Linked DNA regions of Homo sapiens: region 2 is linked to region 1. The links are contacts of gene promoters, found by promoter capture Hi-C in human tissues and cell types (Jung and others, 2019). All regions are on one chromosome and are shown on one strand. Each heading gives the region's core, a stretch centred on a gene start or on the middle of the fragment in contact. The rest is flanking DNA. Distances are from core to core; before and after follow the strand shown.

Evidence for each region. Contacts are between HindIII fragments. The study calls those that stand out against the background at their distance.
Region 2: a contact is called between a fragment that was not itself captured here and the fragment with the promoter of TOM1L2 in region 1, in 2 of the 25 tissues and cell types used here (H1 embryonic stem cells and liver).

What each region holds. Positions count from the first base shown.
Region 1 is chr17:17,966,233-17,973,649 of GRCh38, forward strand. It overlaps TOM1L2 (target of myb1 like 2 membrane trafficking protein), which reads right to left and starts at 6,168. Exons shown (of 15, transcript NM_001082968.2): 1 at 6,030-6,168. The coding sequence starts at 6,081. It overlaps DRC3 (dynein regulatory complex subunit 3), which reads left to right and starts at 6,630. Exons shown (of 14, transcript NM_031294.4): 1 at 6,630-6,742. RefSeq lists enhancers at 5,661-6,230, 6,602-6,921 and a silencer at 5,872-5,921. The HindIII fragment of the contact is 12,285 bases long and covers 1-7,417 here.
Region 2 is chr17:17,661,497-17,668,186 of GRCh38, forward strand. No RefSeq gene overlaps it. Among named protein-coding and RNA genes, the nearest start is that of SMCR2, 13 kb to the right of the region's middle. RefSeq lists enhancers at 1,607-1,696, 2,187-2,326, 5,979-6,480, 6,481-6,690. The HindIII fragment of the contact is 4,773 bases long and covers 1,550-6,322 here.

The DNA.
Region 1 (7,417 bases), core at 4,918-7,417:
AATCTTGCAACTACTTTCTATCTGATCTAATTTAGATACCTACACACTGGGAAATTCTCAGCTTGCTATATACAGATAGTACAGGGCCACTGAATAAATAAATGAACAAATTCTAAATAATCACTCTTTTAGCCTGTCCACAAGAAAACCTACATTTAATGTTTGAAGAAAGATAAAGAAAAGATTAAAGAAACAGAACTTCAAAGCAAGAACTACAGTTCTCGAAGTGAACCAGTAGCATCAGCATCACTAGAGAACTTGACAGAAATGTAGAATGCTACTTCCCACCCCAAACCTACTGAAACAGAAACTCTGAGGGTAGGATCCACTTTTAACAAGCCCTCCAGGTGATTCCCTTGCGGCTGAATCATGAGCTCAGAGTGCAAAAAGTAACATAAATGGCAGCACAGAATGAGCACTGGATCAGGAGTAGATTCTAGGCTTCACTCTGCCATTGACCTTGCACAAGTCTCTTAACTTCTCAGAGCCTCGATTTCCTTATGTGATACAGGGATGATAACACCCAAATAGTTAAATGTTGTGAGGGTTAAATGAGATTCTATGTACAGAGTTTGCATATAGTTGGTACTTAATAATTATAAGTTCCTTCCAGTTATCTTCCTGTATATCTCACAAGGTTGTGAACACTAAATAAAATGACTGAAGCAAAAGGGCTTTGCAAATTCCTGCCCTTGAACATCAGACTCCAAGTTCTTCAGCTTTGGGACTCAGACTGGCTTCCTTGCTTCTCAGCTTGCAGATGGCCTACTGTGGGACCTCATCTTGTGATTGTGTGAGTCAGTACTCCTTAATAAACTCCCCTTAATATAAACATCTACCCTATTAGTTGTGTCCCTCTAGAGAACCCTAATACACATAGCAATCTGAGGGACAACTAACTATTCTTGGTACAAATAGCCAGGTTAAACGTCTACCATTCACAGGATATTATGAAGTAGTTTATGTCCAACACCAGTCAGTCTACAAACAAACTCTGCAACAGAATATCTGCTTCTTGCCTGTTTATTAAAGCAGAACAATGAAGAGAATACATGCCCACCACCCCCAATATTCTGGTCAGAATTAACTAACTACTCACTGATCTTTGAATCTAAACTTTACTCTTGGAAAAGGATTTTCTGAAAACTTTTTCTAGCCAACACAAGGAAAACTGCAAACTGCTGCAGACACAATGGACCTGACTTGGGGAACTCCCCATGTATGTCATCCAACTCCAAGCAGTTGTGGAAGGCTGAGATTAAGACAGTTAACATTTTGAAGCTTGTTGCAGAACAGAAAATTAAGAAATACAAGTAAGTACTCTTTCTTCCACCACACTTCTTAGCCTCGCACACCATGGCTAGGCTTTCTCTCTCTTTTTTTTCTTTTTTGGAGATGCAGTCTCGCTCTGTCATTCAGGCTGGAGTGCAAATGGCACGATCTCGGCTCACTGCAACCTCCACCTCCCAGGTTCAAGGGATTCTTCCGCCTCAGCCTCCCGAGTAGCTGGGATTATACGCGCGTGCCACCATGCCCAGCTAATTTTTGTATTTTTAGTAGAGATGGGGTTTTGCCACATTAACCAGGCTGGTCTTGAACTCCTAACCTCAGGTGATCCACCCGCCACGGCCTCCCAAAGTGCTGGATTACAGGTGTGAGCCACCGCACCTGTCCAGCTTACTCTCTCCCTAAACCATGCTTTCTACTCAGGAACTGCCCTCCAGAATAAAGGGCGGGATGGATGCAAGAAATGCACAGTTAACTATGTCAGACTGTGGTCTTAGCCGCTAACTTGAGATGAACACGCTAAGTGTTCTACTAAATCGTACCAGGTTAGAATGTTCACATGAGGCCCACGCATAAGACAGAGTAAGAATTACTCCACCAACCGCTCAGACAGACCCAGGACACCTTTTGTGAGCATGTTACCTCTACCGAAGGCTCCCTAAGAGCAGCTTGTTAATATTTGTATCCCCAGAGCCTGGCACAGGCCTGGCCCCCCACAGGCACTCATAACTGCCTACTGAAGTGAACAGACAAAATTATTTAGGTGTAAGCCCCATGCAGCTGTTGAGAAGTATTATTTTATAAGCAGGGAAAATTAGGTCCAAAGAGACTAAAAGTTGAAGTCAGTTAAAGAACGTAGTCTTTGGGCCGGGCGCAATGGCTCACTCCTATAATCCTAGCACTTTGGGAGGCCAAGGAGGGTGGATCACGAGGTCAGGAGTTCAAGACCAGCCTGGCCAAGGTAGTGAAACCTTGTCTCTACTAAAAATACAAAAATTAGCCCGGCACGGTGCCAGGCACCAGTAATCCCAGCTACTTGGGAGGCTGAGACAGGAGAATCGCTTGAACTTGTGGGGCGGAGGTTGCAGTGAGCTTAGATCGTGCCACTGCACTCCAGCCTGGGTGATGAAGTGAGACTCCATCTCAAAAAAAAAAAAAAAAAGAATGTAGTCTTTGATGCCACCCATCCAGAGCAGGGCTTCCTCCTGTGCCCAAACCCTACTTGCCACCACTCCCCACAGCCACCTCTGCTCCATTCAGACTGGTACTCACAGATGTGCCTGTGCCCCACTCCCTGCCTCATTCAGCTGTCCCTAGGCCCAATGATATTGTTTTCTGCATGCAGAGTTCCTACCCATCCTTTATGAACAGCCCTCAGACTCAAAGAAGCCAGTCCCTGTCACCCCAGCCTCTTCTGAATTGTTTCTGACTCCTTCAGCACTTACAATCTACACCACTCATTGTTTCATGCATCTCTGTCTTCTCTCCTGAAACCGTAAATCCATTGAGGACAGGGATCAGAGAGGGACCAGCTCTCCTTTTTTTTTTTTTTTTGGAGACAGAGTCTCACTCTGTCGCCCAGGCTGGAGCGCGGTGGCACAATCTTGGCTCACTGCAACCTCTGCCTCCCAGGTTCAAGCGATTCTCCTGTCTCAGCCTCCTGAATAGCTGGGATTACAGGCGCCCACCACCACACCCGGCTCATTTTTGTATTACTAGTAGAGACAGGGTTTCACCATATTGGTCAGGCTGGCCTCCAACTCCTGACCTCAAGTGATCCACCACCTTGGCCTCCCAAAGTGCTGGGATTACAGGCATGAGCCACCACAACCAGCCTACAGCTGCTGTTTTTAATCATTAGCTTTGTAGTTGTTATTTTATTTCTGTATTCCCCCTCCCTCCCACCAATCCCCCACCCCCGCACATTCTTTTAAAAGAATACTAACAACACTAAATATCAAGAAAGTCACTTTGACACTTTGTCACAACAGTACGGAATATACATTAGAACCTAATTCTGTCCATTAATCATTTACCTGAACTGAACTGAAATGACCTATTGGCTACCTGGCAGTGGGGAGCCATCATCATCTTTAGTCAAGCATCTTATGAGCAATGGTGAATCCTGGGGCCTGGTAGGGTATTTTCCTTCACAGGTCACAGACGGGCCAGTTGTTTCACATATCCTCTCCAGATAGAAAATCCAACCCTAACTTAAATATTCTGTTATTAACAGTGGCAGTTTCAATTTACTGAGCTTCTACTATGTTCCAGATACTATGCTAAGTGTTTTCATACATTATCTCATTTAAACTACATTACTCTGTGAATAGGAATCTTTCTCTCTCTCTCTCTCTCTCTCAGAAGACTGACAAACTAAACCTCAGAAAGCAACACAATTTTCTGGGGTCACACAGCCAAGAAATGGGGGCCAGGTCAAAATTCAACTTAGGTCTCCCTGACAGAAGTATCAAGCTCTTTCCACTTGCTATATATCCCTATATCTCTTATATTTGGTTTTTTGTTGTTGTTGTTGTTGTTTGTTTGTTTTTTGAGACAGAGTCTCACTCTGTCGCCCAGGCTGGAGTGCAGTGGCACAATCTCAGCTCACTGCAAACTCCGCCTCCCGGGTTCAAGCAATTCTCCTGCCTCAGCCTCCCGAGTAGCTGGGACTACAGGCGCATGCCACCACGCCTGGCTAATTTTCTTTTTTTTTTTGGATTTTTAGTAGAGACGGGGTTTCACCGTGTTAGCCAAGATGGTCTCGATCTCCTGACCTTGTGATCCGCCCGCCTCAACCTCCCAAAGTGCTGAGATTACAGGCGTGAGCCACCGCACCCAACCACATTTGTATTTTAAATCCCCTTTAACTTCTACCCCTCATTTACTACCTTGTCATTTTAAAGGTGTAGAGCTTCCTATTATAAAGGGGACAGAAAGGAAAACAATTCTCGCAAGTTTTCTGGCTCCCTCCATTAACTGGCTGGAAATTAGTTTTTGGAGTGTGGCTGCCATGCAAGAGCACCTGAAGAGAGTGGAAAAGGACATGGGGAAGAAGTAAGGAAGTGAGAATCCAGAGACTCTCCAGTGGGCAGCAAGAGACAAGATGTCAAAAAGGTGGGAAAACACTCTTTTGGGGTCCCTCATGCATTATAAAAGATACTACGCCAGAAAGTAAAGAAAGGCTCCTAAATGCTAATTAGCCAACAGGAGAGACCTCAATAAGTTTATAGGCTCCACTAAAGGCTGGAAAGTAAGCTAAAATTTCATAAGCAAAGCAGAAAATAAACAAATCACTACTGCTGAAATCAGGCCCATAAGAACACCAAAGATCCTGGCTCATAAAAGACGTTTTACCAGTCCTTCAACCAACCAGGAGGAATCCAGTTTTCAAACAAACTAATCAGCATTCTTGACTGATCAAGTGGCATAAGCCACTGCCTTGGGTAAAAAGGCAAGTTGCTTTCTTAGTAAGGAAGTCCCATATGGTGGCCATTTCAGTATTCCTTTACCTACACTTTGGGCTTTCCTTATCCATGATTCTGGCCATCTCTGGTGTCCCCAGGTGTCCACATCCCCCCTATAGGATTAACAGATAATGCTGAGTACCATTCTCTCTACATTGCCAACAAAAGATTTCAGCTTTGGTAAACTTAATATGAGGTGGGGGAGGAAGCAACAGTCAATGTGCAGAGTACTACAAAGAATATCAAAACTTGAGAACTTTAAGGGATCTATCACATCTCATCTCCAAACACTTTGACAGACAGGGGAACTTCAAACCAGAAAGGGCACAAGGTCATATGGAGTCACTGACAAAACCACTGCTAGAGTCCAGGCTTCCATGATTCCCAGTCCAGGGCTCTTATCATTAAATAACACAGCCTCCCTTCTTTCCTGGGAGGCACTGCAGGCATGCCATCCCCCTGCCAAGATAATCACCCTCCAAGAGCCCCTCCTCCTATCCCAGTCCCTCCTACAGCACAGCTGAGTTGCAGCTCAAATTAGCAAGTCCCGGAGCAGGGGGCATTTCTGGGAGGGTGCCCAGTCTGAGGGTTGCTGGTACCGAAGAGGAGGGACAAAGATGGAGAAGAAGGTGACATCCCACAAAGGGTTTGGGAGAACTGGGTCCTTGGGGCAGTGGCAGTGAGCCTGCTGGGCTGGATAAAGACACATGCAGTGGCATCTCCCAAAGCGCATTGGGGAAGCAGACCAGCAGTTGGCACCACCTCTAGCAGCAAAAGGAAGGGCTGAGCCTTGATGGGCAGGGAAGCCTGGGGCATCTCCGAGTCCAAGTTGGGCCTCAGGGGTGCCTCCTGGCAGAGTGGCACTGGCGCGCCCGTGAGGTGGCACCAGTGCCCGGGAGGAGGCCCGAGGACACAGATGCCCTGCCTGCCCGTGGGATAGCACCGGCACCCGGCGAAGGCCCAGCCCCCCCGGGAGGTGGCACCGGCGCCCGGCGAACGCCCGACGACCAGGATGCCCAACCCGCCCGTGAGGTGGCACCGACGCCCAGTGAAGGCCAGACGACCAGGATGCCCAGCCCGCCCGTGAGGTGGCACAAGCGCCCGGCAAAGGCCCGACGACCAGGATGCCCAGCCCGCTCGTGGAGTGGCACCCGCGGCTGGCGGAGGCCCAGCCCGCTCGTGAAGTGGCACCGGCGCCCGGCGGAGGCCCGCGGTCCTCACCAGCCGGATCAGCGGCCGCCGTTGCCCAGCCTCCTGCCCCACACGCGGCCTTACCGAGGCACTGCCCCACTGGTGTGCTGAACGGGTTCCCCAGGAGGAACTCCATCTTGGGTGGACAACACGCAGCGGCCCGGGCCCCCTGTCTGCCACCTAGGCCTCCGCTGTAACCCGCCGGACTCCCGTCCTGACTGACACTTGCCCCCTCCCCACTCTCTGGAACGCCGAGCTTAGGGCCTTTGGCCCCGCCCCCTTGCCGCGTCTCTATTGGGGGACACCTACGAAGCCCGCCTCCTATTGGTCGTTACACCTCTGTCAGCAAAGCCCCCACCCACCCCGCAGCGTCCGATTGGGCGGAGGAGCGAGCTAGGTCACCGGAGTCCCTGTCAGCCGTGGCGGCACCTCCCCTGGCCCGCCCCCAAAGGGGAAGCTGCGCATTTTGATTCCTCTGTATATTGGTCAATCTAAAGGATTCTTACTATTATTGGACAAAAGACGAGTCAATCACGCAAATGGACGGAACAGAGGTGAATCTAGGAATATCCCCGCCCATAGAAAGTACTGATTGGAGAAACATTTGTTTTCTCTACGGCTGGTTGGTGTAAGGAGTGTTTCACCACACGGAGATGTGGTCACGTGACTTGTCAACTTTCACCCAGGATGTCTCCCTTCTGACTTCCCCTTAGCAACCAAGTCGCGGCGCTTGGTTCCCCAGCAACCGGGAGACGCGTCTGCTGCGTGGAACCGCCGAGTTCCCAGCGCTTGAGAAGGTGAGACCTGGGAGCTGAGGCTCCCGGAGGACTTGCAGGGACAGATAGTGCCCGACGTAACTCTTTCCTGTGACCTTTTTCTCGGAGAACGCCGGCCCGGCCCTTCTCATTTATAAAATGAGCACGTAGGTCCTCTCCCAGCCACTTTACAGTCGTGTGAGACAGCCAAGACACTTTAGTCCTGGGCTTGTCAAGCTTTTGAATAAAAAAAAAAAAAAATACTAAGGAAGCATTTCCCGAGGGAGCAGGGCCAGAATGGATTTTTAAGGGGTTCCGTCTTCCAGCCTCCTTTCATAGAAAGAGAGGTACCCGGTCCACTGATAACTTTTCCCAGAATTTAGCCATCATAACTGACCTCATAACTATCAAATGATTTCATCTTGGTACTGTATATACCGCTTTGGATGTGAATACGGCTACTCAAGTTCTGTATCCGTCTCTGTCAGTAACTCATTGTACGACTTTGGACAAGTTCCTTTACCTCCCTGGAGCCTCAGGTTCCCTAGCTGGGAAATAAGGGCATTAGGACTCCCTTTTTATGGCCTCCGGAGCTTACATGTACTTAAATAATGCATGTGCACTGAGCACACAGTAAGCATTCAGTAAGTGATTGATTTTATTCTTTTTTAAGAAAAATTTTGTTCATTATTTATTTATTTATTTATTTTTTATTTT
Region 2 (6,690 bases), core at 2,686-5,185, 310 kb before region 1:
GGCCAACATGGTGAAACCCTATCTCTACTAAAAATACAAACATTTGCTGGGCGTGGTGGCATGCGCCTATAATCCCAGCTACTCAGGAGGCTGAGGCAGGAGAATCATTTGAACCCAGGAGGCGGAGGTTGCAGTGAGCTGAGATCGCGCCATTGCACTCCAGCCTGGGCTACAAGAGCAAAACTCCATCTCAAAACAAAACAAAAACAAAAACATAAACAAAAAAGAAAATAAACTACTATATTCACGGCAAAGACAGATTAAGGACAAGGCAGTTGAAAATGAAATGACAGGACCTGAAGAAAAGTGTGTTTCCCAGAGCTGCTCTCACGAGCTCTCCGGGAGGTGGGAGGGTCACTCAGCCCCAAGCTTTGTGAGATGTTGGGTGTTGGTGTGTGGCCAGGTATATTTACGTATAATTTACATACAATTAAACTCATCAATTTTTAGCATACAATTCTATGGATTTTGACAAATGTGTCAAATCACATAACTGCCTCAAGCCCCCTTGTGGTCAGGTCAGCCTTTTCCCCATCCCCAGTTCCTGGCAACCGCTGATTAGTTTTCTGTCCCTATCATTTTGTCACTCCCGGAATGTCACATAATAGAATCCTGCAGCCTACAGCCTTTCAAGGCTGGCTACTTTTGCTCAGCATAATCCACTTAAGATTCACTGATATTTTTGTACGTACCAGTAGCTTGTTCCTTTTTTTTGAGACGGAGTTTCACTCTTGTGGCCCAGGCTGGAGTGCAATGGCACGATCTCAGCTCACTGCAACCTCCGCTTCCTGCGTTTAAGCGATTCTCCTGCCTCAACCTCCCAAGCAGCTGGGATTACAGGCATGCACCACCAAGCCTGGCTAATTTTGTATTTTTAGTAGAGACAGGGTTTCTCCATGTTGGTCAGGCTGGTCTCAAACTCCTGATCTCAGTGATCTGCCCGCCTTGGCCTCCCAAAGTGCTGGGATTACAGGCATGAGCCACCGCGCCTGGCCATTTGTTCCTTTTTATTGACAAATACTATTTCCTTGTCTGGACATACCGCATGTTGCCTCTCCATTCATCAGTGGATGAACAATGGGCTGTTTTCACCAGTGCACTTGCCTTGGAATCCACAAACTGCAAATGGCAGTGGCCTTGCCCATCCCACCCACACCGCTGCAGTGCGCGGCCTGCTCGTTGGGCCACAGATACATGAACCTCCACCTGCCTCAGGGCCTCTGCACTTACTGTTGCGATGCTTGCGATGCTCTTCCCATGACTCTGGCCTCCTTCCTCAGAACCTCTGCTCATAAGTCACCTCTCTGACCACCCTGTCCTCAGTTTCCACCCCATCACTCTCTGTGCCCTCCTCCTGCTGTTCCTTCTCCCAGCACCCACTGGAGTCTCTGGTTTTGTTTGCTTGTTTGTGTATTGTCCATCTCCCACCAGACTGGAGACTGGAGACCCTCAGCGGAGGAAGTCTCTGTTCATGGCTGTATCCCCAGGGCCTGACACAGAGTGGACTCTAAATATGAGTTGAGTGAGCAGCTGCTGGTACAGGATCACAGGAGGATTAAATGAAATAGCGAGTGTGAGTGCCCTTTGCAACCTGCTGTGCTTATTGAGGGGGAAACAGGCTGAGAAAGGTGCAGTGACCAACCCAGGGCCACCAGGTCAGAGCGATAGACACCCAGGCCTACACCCCTCCCTGGGCCACCCTCCTGTCCACCCTGCCTCAGGGCCAGCGTTCCTAAGGCACATTACACACACACACAGCCCACAGACACCCAGACCGCACACACAGCTCAACACCACACACAGACAAACGCCCTCAATGCAGACATGCCCAGCCTTGCACACACAGGAAGTCCACACACAAACACCAGCACACTGCCTTGAACACGCAGGAATAGCATTCACACGCCCATCCCCCTACACAAACACACAGGCCACACCCACACGCCAAAACACACCCCCAGCGTCAGACCTTGATGACTGACAGCCCAGGACTCCAGTGGGCTTGCGTCGCCATAACAACAGACGGCTCCGAGTCTTGGGCTGTGAGTGTGGTCGGGCTGTGAGTCACAGCTGCAGCAGACGCTCCGCAGAGCAGGAGCAGCCTGGCCCAGTGCGGACTCCCCAGTGCCAACCTCTTATGGACGCAGAGTGGACCCTCTCAGATGGGTGTGCAGTGTCCATTAGCATTACCCACAGGAGGGATGTGGCCCTCAGGTGTCCCCTGTGTGCCACACACTGGCGTGCGCCCAGAGCTTCACACACATTTTCTTGCTTAATCCTCGTGGTGTCCTCACCAAATCAGTGTGGCCAGGGAGACCATTTTACAGATGTTGAAACTGAGGTTCAGGTAGGGGAAGTCCCTTGCCTCACTCAGGTCACACAGTGAGTCACCACCAGGCCTGAAATTTGAATTCAGGTCTACTGAACCATGAAGGGTCCTCTTTCCACTGCCCTGAATCCAATCCAGGGGAGCTCCCAGCTGTGCACACCATTTCCAGACAAGAGCAATAGATTATCAGCTCTCACTTGCACCAGAGTTGGTTCTGCCCTTGTAGAGCTCCCTTGGTAGGTAGTGAGATCCCCATCATGAGCAGCATCCAAGCAGAGACTGTCATAGCTGCTATGGAGAAGCATCAAGTATCAGGGGACAAGGGGTTGGACCAGACGGCCTGGCTTTGAGTTGTAAATGACAAAAAAAATTATTGGCAAACAAAACAGGAATATAAAAGCTTCAGGAACAGCTGGATCCAGCTGTCAGATGTCATCAGGAATCTTCTTCTGGATTTCCCCTTCCTTGGGGTTCACTTTCTTCTCAGAATAACCTTCCCTAGCCTAGGGTAGACCTCACAGCTGCAGGCTTACATCGGTCGTGGCCCCCAAAAGCAAGCTTAATAGATGTTTGTCAGATGAATGCTAGAAGCATGATAAGGTTGCGGGTCTCAGTCTAAGTAAATCCCAACTTGACCTCTGGGAGTCACTCTGAGGAGGCGCAGTGCTCATTCCTGTGTGCCAAATCCCATCATCTCTCAAACGTCGTATGATTGAGTTAGATTGTACTATGCACTTCACAGACATTAACTCATGGAAATCCCAGGCAGCCCTATGCAGTGGTCACAATCTCCATCTCATGGACGGGGACACAGGGTCCCAAAGAGGCAAAGTGTGGTACCTGAGGTAGGGCTAGAGCCACACAGTGCCTTACCAGGCTGAGATCAGGAGGCCGTACCTCTGAACGAGGGCAGGACTGTTCTTCACAGGCAGCTTTCCTCCAAGGAGGCAGAGGACGGCACTGGCACGTTCACTCAGCAGCCAACATTGGCAAGCACCCACTCTACCCCGTGGCCCGGGGTGCCACTGCCCATGGAGCTTGGAGGTGCCAACTGCTGCCAGTGACCTTGGGTAAGTCATTTTGTGCTTGATCCTTGCATCCCCATCTGTAAATGGGCAGGTCACCCCACTCAGAGGGGCAGAACTCATGTCAGTGGTTGAACGCTTCTGGCAGTACAGCCCAATAGAACTTCCTATACCAGGTCCCACAGGGTGGCCACACACCGCTCCTGAACACCAGAAAGTGACTAGTATAATAATAACAATTTTAAAGGCCGGGCGCGGTGGCTCATGCCTGTAATCCCAGCACTTTGGGAGGCCAAGGTAGGCGGATCACAAGGTCAGGAGTTCAAGACCAGCCTGGCCAACAGAGTGAAACCCTGTCTCTACCAAAAATACAAAAATTACCCGGGTGTGGTGGCATGTGCCTATAGTTCCAGCTACTAGGGAGGCTGAAGCGGAAGAATCGCTTGAACCCGGGAGGTGGAGGTTGCAGTGAGCTGAGACCGCACCATTTGTACTCCAGCTTGGGTGATAGAGTGAGACTCTAAAAGAAACACACACACACACACACACAATTTTAAGTTTTATTTCTTTTAAATTGATTGAAATGTACCTAGCTACACGTGGCTAATGACAACCATATTGAGCAGCAAAGCTCCAGGGTTCTAGACAAACAGCAGATATTAATTTTGGTTTTGTTCTGTTTTACTAACCCCACCCCATGCTCCAGTGCAGGCAGCCTGGTCCCTAGCTTGTCTCAGAGAGCTTTGCTGGCCTCCTTTGCCAGACCCGGTGGCCAGACTCATCATGGCCTTGGGACCTTTGTGTGGCTCTGGAGAAGAAAGAAGCTCCCAATAATGGCTGAGATTCAGTTGCCCACCAGCCAGCAGGATAGGGGCTTAGAACAGGATGTAAGATGATTTAAAGAAAAAAAGGGGCTGGGCGTGGTGGCTCATGCCTGTAATCCCAGAATTTTGGGAGGCCGAGGAGGGTGGATCACTTGAGGTCAGGAGTTCGAAACCAGCTTGGCCAACATGCTGAAACCCCATCTCTACTAAAAATACAAAATAATTAGCCGGGCGTGGCAGCCGGCGCCTGTAATCCTAGCTACTTGGGAGGCTGAGGCAGGGGAATCGCTTGAACCCGGGAAGTGGAGGTTGTAGTGAGCCGAGATCACACCACTGAACTCCAGCCTGGGTGACAGAGTGAGATCCATCTCAAAAAAAAAAAAAAAGAAAAAGAAAAAAGGAAGCTGGCTGTTTCTGGCACACCTGGGTTTTCCACTGGGTCTATACCAGGTGCACAAGTGCCTACTCCCCACCTCTATACCCGCACAACCCACCACGTGGACATGCACCAAACACACCCCCCAGCTGTGTGTGGACACAAGCAGCCAACACATGCTCTGTGGCTTACTCCTCCCATGCTCCTGGGCCTGGGCTGAGGGTCCAGCAGTTCACAGAACATCCACGTGGTCTGGGCTTCCAGAGCCTGTCCATCCTCCATCCCCTCTACCTGCCCAGGATCCCCGGGCCCCTGCTGGCCTACAGGAGTAAATGGCCACCTGCACACCCTACACACTCACGCCCAGCTCTGGATGGACATGAGGCAGGGCGAGGTCTGGGCGGTAGCCAGGAAATCCTAAGCTGTGAGTGTTCGTTCCCTGTTGCTGCTGTAAAGAGTTACTACACATGTCGGGGCTTAGAACAGCAGAAATGATTCTCTTGCAGTTCTGGAGACTGGGTGTCCAAAATCAGTATCACTGGTCTCGAGTCATGGCGTCTGTGGGGCTGTGCCCCCTCGGAGGCGCCAGGGGAGAACCTGTGCAGGGCCCCTTGCAGCCTCAGCCAGCTGCCCTGGTGATCCCTGGCTGTGTTTGCATCACTCTGGTCTCTGCCTCGGTGGCCGCGCAGTCTCCTCCTCCGTGCTTGTGTTGTCGAGTCTCCCTCAGCCTCTCTCTGTTGTGGACACTAGGGACAGCATTTAAGGAACCCCTAGATAGCCCAGGATCATCTCCTTATCTCAAGACCTTTAACTTTGCACATCTGCAGGAGCCCATTTTTTGGCTGTAAAGGGGACACCCACACGTTCCAGGGATGAGGACCTGGATATCTTTAGGGGCCATTTTTCAGCCTACCATCATGAGCCGCAGACACTCCGTGGCCAGCTCCCAAACTTAGCTCTGGCTGTGGGGCCGGGTACAGTGACAGACCTGAGACCCCATCAGCGCTGACACCATAGGCCCCAAGAGCCTGTGACCATGGCTGGTGAGAGCTCCCCAGAACAGTGGGGCTCTCAGAGAAGTAGAGTGAGGAGCACAGAGAGACGGATGGGTAGGTCCTGGGAGCAGGAAGGTATGAATTCAGGGGAGGCACACCGTGGCCTCCAAGCTGGGCCTCCACAGTGTCTCACTTCATCTTCCCACAGCCCTTGACAGATTAGGAAACCAAGGCTCACAGAAGCAACAGCTAAGTCCTCTGTGCAGCTTACCTCTGAACGGCCCCACAGAGAAGCTGTTAGCAGCTCCAAGTTACAGGGGGAGGAAGTGCCTGCTCAGAGGTGATGTGACTTGCCCAAGGTCACACAGCAACAGGTGGCAGGGCAGAAGCATGAGCCCTCTGGCTGACTCAAGCACCCACCTTCTTGGTGCCTCACCAGGTTCCCAGAAGCCAGAGGGTGAGCTGGTTTTGGAGAATGACCAGGATTTGGGGAAATGGAGAAGGAGGGTAGATGAACTTTGAGAGCTGAGTGGATCAATGGGATTTTTTTCTGGCTTTGGAGGGAGGTGACCTCAGCGTGGGGGTCAGTGTCTCTGCTATTGGGCAGGTTCCTCCTCTCAGGGGCCCCAGAACAGACTCCAACAACGTCCATCCCAGCAACAGGTGGGGGTCTTGGGAGGGTTATGTCTAAAGGGCTGTGTTCACCCCACAGATGACTCTCAGGGGCCTGCCATGGCCCCTCCCTCCTTGGTTTTTTCTCCCTTTTGTCTGCTGCCCCCATCCCACAGGCCCTGGAGGGCAGCAGGAAGGAGAAGGGCAGGGGTTGTGGCATGGCTGAGTGCACCCTCATTTCTAGGGACTCAGGAGAGCAGAAAGAGCTGAGTGCCCCCCAGGAGCAAGCCAGGAAGGGGCCATTCTTGCCTCCAGCGGTGGCTGGGAGCTGGCCCCATCAGGAATGGGGTAAGGCTCCAACCAGCAGCCCTGAGACCCCAGCCTGGCCCTCTAGGGCTGCACACAGAGTTGCACACACCCCACCCACGTGTGTGGACAGATGCACACCCCTCCCTCCTTACACCTGGGCCTCTAACAACAGTTAGATGCCACAGAGGGCCTGGGCACGCCATCTGTTGTTCAGGCCACA